Linked DNA regions of Homo sapiens: region 1 is linked to region 2. The links are contacts of gene promoters, found by promoter capture Hi-C in human tissues and cell types (Jung and others, 2019). All regions are on one chromosome and are shown on one strand. Each heading gives the region's core, a stretch centred on a gene start or on the middle of the fragment in contact. The rest is flanking DNA. Distances are from core to core; before and after follow the strand shown. Region 1 overlaps NAPB (NSF attachment protein beta). Region 2 holds the start of CST3 (cystatin C).

Region 1 (4,377 bases), core at 581-3,080, 220 kb before region 2:
CATTTTTTAAAACTTAGATAAAATGAATTATTTCCTAGGAAAACACAATTTACCAAAATTGACCTCAGTAGAGATAGAAAATTTAAACATTACAAACTCCAGAGACAAAAACAAGAAAGTTATCAAAGAAATACCCATCAAAAGCCCCAATGGTTTCACTGTGGTATATTCTTAAATCTTCAAAGACCAGAGTCCAAAAAAAAAAAAAGAAAAACATCCACATTATTTTTAGGAGGCACCTGTAACAGCAATACTTCAAGCTGATAAAGTAAAGCTATATACAAATGAATTGTAGATAAAACAATCCTAAATCATGTATGTAAAAACAGAATCTAGGCCAGGCACAGTGGCTCATGCCTGTAATCCCAGCCCTGTGGGAGACCAACCAGGCAGATCATTTGAGCCCAGGAGTTTGAAACCAGCCTAGCCAATATGGTGAAACCCCATATCTAATAAAAATACAAAAATTAGCTGGGCATGGTGGCCTGTGCCTGTAATCCCAGCTGCTGAGGAGGCTGAGGTGGGAGGATCACTTAAGCCTGGGAGGCGGAGGTTGCAGTGAGTAATGAGCACATCACTGCACTCCAGCCTGGTCAACAAAGTGAGACCCTGTCGCAAAAAAATAAACAAATAAATAAAAATAAAAATGGAATCTACATTTAAAAATATATTATAATCCTGAGAGGTTTACTCCAGGAGTGCGAGGACAGTACAATACGAGGCCTCATATTTACTAATTAACATATAATAACTCTTAAGGAGAAAAATGTTTATCTCCGCAGATATTCAAAAAGGCCTTCAAAATACAACACTAATCCCTAATGAATACACGGACTAAAACTGGAATTGACAGACAAGTCCTCACCATGAAAAAATATACCTTAATTCAAGGAAGTATTGACTTATTAGATTTTGTTATTACTTATAAGTTCCACTTAAATACAGAAATAGTTAACATTCTGAAACTCTACTTCCAAGTTTCCTTACTGTGAACTTTATTAGTCACTGAAAATTCTTTGAAGGTACAAAAGCTTTACTGATTTTATAACCAATCAGATAAACACAATGTGAAAATCTAAGAAGAGTATATGAAGTCTGTAACTAGGGTGATTCTGTGTCCTCATTGCATAGATATGCTTGACTTGTACCCATTTTATTAGTATCTCAAAAATATCACAATTTGGACAATATATTCTCTTTGACTCCATAACTCACAAAAATAGAAAAATATATTAAAAAAATTTTAAGTATAATATTTTGATTAGCTTAATTATTCAGCATTAATTCATACATGAATTAAGATTTAAATATGCTGTTTATATATAAAAGGTAATAGAGATTGAGACATAACTAAGTAAAATGAGGAGGTAAAGGGGAAAATGTAAGACCATGTAAGTTATAATAAATTTTTCATCATTTTTAGCAAAATCAACAGATACTGTCTGAAAATCAAGATATCAGGAAGTAGAAGTGCTCTAAAATTATTTAGAAATATGGTGGTAACCATCAGAAAAACTAATGAGAAAGTTAAAAATGGTTGCTTCTTGGGAGTGAGATTACGTAAAAAGAAGACTCAGAGAACTTTACTTTTCAACTGAAAACTCTCTGCGCTGGGCACGGTGGCTCATGCCTGTAATTCCAGCACTTTGGGAGGCCGAGGTGGACGGATCATGAGGTCAGAAGTTCAAGACCAGCCTGGCCAACATGGTGAAACCCTGTCTCTACTAAAAATACAAAAATTAGCTGGGTGTGGTGGCACCCATCTGTAATCCAAGCTACTCAGGAGACTGAGGCAGCAGAATCACTTGAACCCAGGAGGCAGAGGTTGCAGTGAGCCAAGATCATGCCACTGCACTCCAGCCTGGGCAACAGAGCAAGACTCCATTTCAAAAAAAAAGAAAACTCTCTGTACTCCTTGTACTTTTCTACCGTGTACAGCTACAATGTTCATAATAAGCAAATATTTAAATAAAATGCCTAGTACAGTGGCTAACACCTGTAATCGCAGCACTTTGGGAGGCTGAGGTCAGCAGAGCAGATCGCTTGAGTCCCGGAGTTGGAGACAAGCCTGGGCAACATAGCAAGACCCTGTCTCTACAAAAAATACAAAATTAGTCAGGCATGGTAGTGCATGCCTGTAGTCCTAGCTACTTGGGAGGCTGAGGTGGGAGGATCTCTTGAGCTCAGGAGGTCAAGGTTGAAGTGAGCAGATATCTCGCCACTGCCTTCCAGCCTAGGCAACAGAGTGAGAGCTCGTCTCAAAAAAATAAATACATAAATAAAACGGAAGAAAGCGACTTAAACTCTCCTTTACTTGGTATAGCTTTGCTCTTGAAAACTAGGTAAGAATAAAAGAAAAAACATCAGCATTTGTATTAGCATTAATACATTCATTCTCTCCACCAATATTTACCACGTGCCTAACGCATGCCTCAGGCTGGGTGAGGTGTTAGCCACAGCAACAAAACAGGCAGACTTCCAAGGAGCCACATATGATTACTGGCCCTCCCTCTCTCCAGAGTAACTGCACCTCACAGAGCTCACAAGAATGAAAGAATATGTGGAGAAAACTGCAAAAATGCAACAAGAAAAAGGCCAGTCTGGTAACAGTTTATCATTTGATACCAAGCTGTAACAACCTAAAATCAGAAAACCAAACAATTATAATAAAGTTATATAGCTCTGTGCAACTGAATAAGCATTCTGACCTCATTCAATCCTTAACAATCGTGAAAAACAGATTCTGTCTCTCTGCCCATCTGAAAACTAAAAAAAACAAGTTCTGAGTATGATTTACTTGACTATAGTCACCAAAATAGTAAATGAGAGAACTTGAGCCTCTACCTGGTCTCCCCATGAATAATAATATAATTATATTTCTTACGTATATTATATAATTTATAAAAATAATTGTTCAATTTATAATCGATTTCTTTTGAGAAAGATACACAAATATACGTATATATTTCTTATACTGTATCACCTGTCTCTGTCAGTAAACCTGAGCCTAATAATTTTTTTAAAAGTTCAATCTGCATTTGAACAAGAATTGTAACTGAGGAAAACCTAAATGCTTCACCTATGTTATCACATGGCCCCACCATATTTTGGCCAAACTTAAAAGCAATCTTTGTTGAAATAAACACAAGTGAAGAATACTGATAATTTACAGTCTACAATGCTTAAGAAATATTCACAATTTTCACAAACAACCAACAAATTATAGATTCATAATTATTTCAAGATAACCCAATGGGGCCTTTCATTAAATTTACATTGACATTGCCAAATTTGTAGCTCTTGTGTAAACTCAGACTAAACACTGAAAGGCAAAGGAAGACAGCATTAACCATAAAGAACATCTTTCCACTGGCATTCTTTTTTTTTTTTTTTTTTGAGACGGAGTCTCGCTCGGGGGCCCAGGCTGGAGTGCAGTGGCACAATCTCAGCTCACTACAACCTCCACCTCCAAGGTTCAAGTGATTCTCCTGCCTCAGCCTACCAAGTAGCTGGTATTACAGGCGCCCGCCACCACGCCAGGCTAATTTTTGTATTTTTAGTAGAGACGGGGTTTCATCATGTTGGCTAGGCTGGTCTCAAACTCCTGACCTCAAGTGATCCACCCGCCTCGGCCTCCCAGAGTGCTGGGATTACAGGCGTGAGCCACTGCACCTGGCCTCCACTGTCAGTCTTAAGCACTTTCTTCTATGTGCATTGTGCAGGTTATTCCCAACCGGGTCTCATAGCAACAAGATGGAGGGGATAGTATTATAAGAGGCTTTTCCAATTCAAAACTATCTTAATGTCAGACTCAGGCCGATTTAAAATCATACCAGTAGTTCATTAACATTATAAACTGGAATTTGAAATTAACTACAAAATTCCATAGCTCATCCCTGGCAACAAACTAAAGGACAAGACAACTCCTTTGGAAGTAGTTTTACTAAACGTACTATACTACAAACTTGAGAAAAAGTTTTAATTCCACAACTACAAAAGCACATTACTGCTTAACGGGCAATTAAGCAGAAACACAAACCACCACAACAGTGGTTTCCTGCAATGTTTGCATCCCTTGTCAGCTCTTTTCCTGGGGAGGAAGGTGGGGATGGGAAAGGAATATTGATACCTTACCTATCAAGCAGATAAGGCAGAGGATTTGTGCCTTACACAGAGAAGAAATATTTGACTGACATGTTCTCATAAATACATATGCATATTTTCATCTAATTTTACTGAAAGCAAGAAACAAAAGCTATAGAATACTACTAAGAATACAGTATTGCCACAAAACCACTGTGAGTGGTAAACACTAGAGAACTCATGACAGGCTTTAATCTGCAGATAGAGCATTCAGAATGTCTGTGATGTGAAATA
Region 2 (4,137 bases), core at 938-3,437:
ACTAGGAGATGAGATGCTCACATACATTGATGTTTTAGGCCAATAAACATTGCTTCCCACGTGCTTCCATTCCAGGTGTGATTTTCAAGGCAATATTTCTAAAGTGAGTCACACACCTGCATGTCTTAGGGTTGCAACTTCAGAAGAGAACTGAATGCTTTCCCTGCACAGTGCCGCCCCAAAACATGACTTGTCAGAACTGTGGAGAAGCATGGGATGAGGGACCCTGGGACCAGGGTGCTAGACCTTGCCCTGTGGAACCACACACAAGTCCTGTAGAAGCACAAGCAAGGCCTGTGATCCCTCTGGTGTCAGTCTGCTCCTCTGTAAAATAGGCTCCAGGGCCCAACGATCTACAATGCCCCATGCTTCACTCCCAGTGAGAGAGAGGTGCAGGCCAGCGGGGACCCTACACCAGGGAATGGCCCTCCTGTGCAGGGAGAGGGCCCCAGCTGACGGCTGCGGGAGAAACGCGGCTGGTCTGGACTCCTCTGAATTTCCAAGAGAAGGTGGAGGAGCTCTAAAGTCTGTGTCACTGTTCGCTGCTCTGCCATGGGATGCAGGTCAAGCTGGGCCTGGTAGCCCTACTGAAGCTCCCTCCCGATCCGACCCCCTACTCCGGTCTGCTGGGTGTCTTCATCTGGCTGAGGTCTAACTCTGCATCAGCTGATAGAGGCAGGGTCAGGCATGCTCCACCCCAGCAGGGACTCAGCTGCCCTGGGATGTAGGGGGTGGTCAGCCGGCCTGAGGGTGAAGGCCGCTAGTCCTAGGGGACTGTGCCCAGGGGTGTGACTTGGGGAGGGAAGCAGGGCTCTGCAGGACAAGGTGCCAGGCTCACGTGTGGCCCCTGCGGAGAGTATTCTGGGAGGAGGATGAGCCGCATGGCCTAGATCTCATCTTGAGCAGCATCAAGCCCACCCAGAGTCAGCATAGTCTCCATCCACACCTGCTAGACCCTGGGAAATGGCACGGTCGTGGCACAGACCCAGCTGCTGCTGCAGGTTAAAAGAGGCCGAGGGGACAGGACAGGGCTGAACTCATGCACTCATGGCCCAGGAGCGTCCTAGGGCACGAAGGCCGTCAACAGACAGGGAAAGCTGAATGAGTCTGAGCATTAGATCATGAATGTGTCAGTGCTGATTTTCAAAATGGAATAGTGATTATGTGCGATATTGCCCTTGTTTTTAGGAAAAACACACTGAAGTGTTTACTTTCAAAAGATTCAGGCAAAAAATGCATATACAGTACATATACACACACCCATATTCACATTCGGAAAGTGAGCTGGGGGGAACAAACAGGGCAAAATGTTAACATCTGTGCTAACATCTGAGGGATCTGGGTGAAAGATCTACAGGGATGCCCTGTGCTATTTTGCAGCTGCTCTGTAAGTCTGAAATTACGGGAGAATAAAAAGTTAAAAGAAACAAAAGTGCTTAAAAATTATTTGGTGGAAGAACAAGGAGGCAGCCAGATGAGGGGCTCTGTTTTTCCTTCTCCTGCGTATTCAGCAGCGCACCCGGAGCCCAGCGTCCCAGGAGGTCGGGACAGAGCTGTGTGGGACGTCCTGTGCCTGCCCCCGCGCTGCGGCGCAGCTCGAGCTGGCTCCTGGAAGCTGATCTTAGGCGCCGGGCGCGGACCTGACGTGTCCGTGCGGTTCCAGGCCAGGCCAGACTCAGGGCATTCCCGGACACGCCCGCCAAGGGCTCGGGGGTGACAGCGAAGACCGGGAACAGGGTCCGGGTGAGAAGCCCAGGCGCCGGAGAGGAGCAGCACGGGGTCCGGGAGCAGCGCGGGGGGAGGCTGGGACGGCGGGGCCGGGGCTTCGGACCCTGCGGGGGGCGGCACGCACCTGCTTGCGGGCGCGCACCACCTGCAGCGCGCGGCTGTGGTACATGTCGTTGCTGGCTTTGTTGTACTCGCCGACGGCAAAGTCCAGTGCACGCCGCACACCCTCCTCCTCCACGCTGGCGTCCATGGGGCCTCCCACTAGGCGCGGCGGCTTGCCGGGACTGGAGCCGGCCGCGGGGCTCACGGCCAGGGCCACGGCCAGGATGGCCAGCAGGAGCAGCGGGGCGCGCAGGGGCCCGGCCATGGTCGGCTAGGACGCGGGACGCGGGGAGTGGGGCGCAGGCGAGAGGCTGGAGCTAGATAGAGAGGACCCGCTGCGATACCGAGGCGAGGCCGTGAGCCCCGCGAGGCCGGCGACTGCGGTTTTATCCCTTCCGGCCTTCGCCGCCCCACCCCACCGCGGCCTGCACTCCCTTTTCCGGAACGCCTCGTCCCTCCCACCTCCCTTCTCCCTCCCCGCCTCCCCTGCCTCTCCCCGCCTCCCCTGCCTCTCCCCGCCTCCAGGTCCCTCCCTATCAGTCTCCTCCCATCCCAGCCTCCCCTGCCCCTCCAGGCTTCCCTGTCCTTCCCCATCCATCCCCTTCCCTCCCCTCCCAGCCCCTCCCGGCCTCTCCTCTCCCTTCCCGCCTCCCCTCTCCCTCCCCTCCTCCCCTGGCCCCCCAGTCTCCCTGGCCTTCCCTATCCATTCCCATCCATCCCCTCCCCTCCCCTCCCCCTCCTCTCCTACTGTCTTCCAGCCTCCCCTGCCTCTCCTATCCTCCCCATTCCTCCCCATCCATCCGACCATTCCCACCTCCCCACTTCGGGCCCCTCCATGCCGCCACTCTTCAGGCTCCTTCTCCTCTGTCCCTTTCCCCTTTCAACCCCCAGACACCGCCTCCCATGCCCCTCATCTCCCTCCTCCACTCCTGTCCTTGCTCCCACTTCGCCCCCACCCCAGCTCGGCCCCTCTTCATCGCCCCTCCCTCGTCCCGCCCCTCCTCTGTCTTCCCTTCCTACCCATTCCTGGCCTCTCCCTGTCCCTGTCCCTCCTATCCTCTTCTTTCCCCTCTTCTCACCCCACTCCTGGCCCCTCTTCCCCCACCCCTTCCACACCTATGCCCCCCTTCTACCCACTCCACCCCCTCAGCTCCATCTCTTCCCAAAGACCTGTCCCTCCTCCCAAGCTTAGGTCACCCTGCCCTCCAGAGAGGTGTCAAGGCCCCCTGGGCCCTAAAAGCATACGACCCCCTAGCTTCATTTCCTCAGAAAAGGGAAAGATAGAGGTCTCGGCCTTCCGGAGTCTTCAGAGGTCCTGAGTATCCGTGAGCATTTGGTCAAGGTCTAGAAATCACTAAGGCAGAGGTGTGATTCCAGAGGCCACAGGAGACTCAGGCCATGCCCTGTGCTAGGGAACTTTTCAAACAGAAGAATTAACCTTTATTTGAGTAAAAAACTCTGGGTTCTCCTTTCACAACTCATTATTCAGTAAACAGACTTTTCACCAGCTTCCCCCTGCACCAGGTAGTCTAGGAGCTAGAGACGGAGCCTGGGTGACCGAGCCATGGACACTACATTGCAGGGCTGCTGCCAGACAGAAATGTGACACGAACCCAGGAGCAATTTAAAACTTTCTGGGAGACACATTTCAAAAAGTAAAAAAGAAACAGGTGAAGGTAATGTTTATAATATTTCTTACTTAACCTAATATATCCAAAATATTATTTCAACACATAAGAAGAATCATTAATAACATAGGTTATTTTATTTTGGGTGTGTGTACTGAGTCTTTGAAATTCCCTGTGTATGTGGGTGTCAATTGTACTGGCCCCATTTCAAGCACCCTGTGGCCACATGTGGCTGGTGGCTGTGGCACTGCACAGCCCAGCATTAGGGTGTGTGGGAGGATGGCGAATAGTGATCAATAATTAATATCAGGAAATTAGTCTCTCTGTTGGAAGTGAGAGTATGGGATAGAGAGAGATGATGCCACTGGACCTGGTCAGGGAGGACTCTATGAGACTGGAAAGGTGAGAAGCCCTGCCTAGACAGGAAACAGCCCCAGGCAGCGGGAAGGGCCAGTGCAAAGGCCCTGAGGCGGGGCTGGGCATGCCTGCTCCAGGAAGAGGAAGCTCCTGGAGGGAGTGTGAGCAGGGAAGGGAACGATCTGGAGTCTCATGGTAACTGTGGGTGGGGCCGGGTGGAAGGTGCAGTGAGACCCATTGGCAGGCAGTGGGGGTGTCAGGAGAGGGAGCAGCAGCCACAGGATGAATGTGGGAGCCCACGGGTGTCTCTTGCTCCTCCCCT

Evidence for each region. The method cuts DNA at HindIII sites, captures the fragments that hold promoters and counts their contacts. A contact is called where the count stands out against the background at its distance.
Region 1: a fragment that was not itself captured here is called in contact with the fragment with the promoter of CST3 in region 2 in 2 of the 25 tissues and cell types used here (adrenal gland and dorsolateral prefrontal cortex).

The regions. Positions count from the first base shown.
Region 1 is chr20:23,413,706-23,418,082 of GRCh38, forward strand. All of the region lies in intron 1 of NAPB (NSF attachment protein beta), which reads right to left. Among named protein-coding and RNA genes, the nearest start is that of NAPB, 5.6 kb to the right of the region's middle. The HindIII fragment of the contact is 6,970 bases long and covers 1-4,377 here.
Region 2 is chr20:23,635,768-23,639,904 of GRCh38, forward strand. CST3 (cystatin C) reads right to left here and starts at 2,188. Exons shown (of 3, transcript NM_000099.4): 1 at 1,853-2,188. The coding sequence starts at 2,095. RefSeq lists silencers at 1,723-1,972, 2,003-2,342. The HindIII fragment of the contact is 14,575 bases long and covers 1-4,137 here.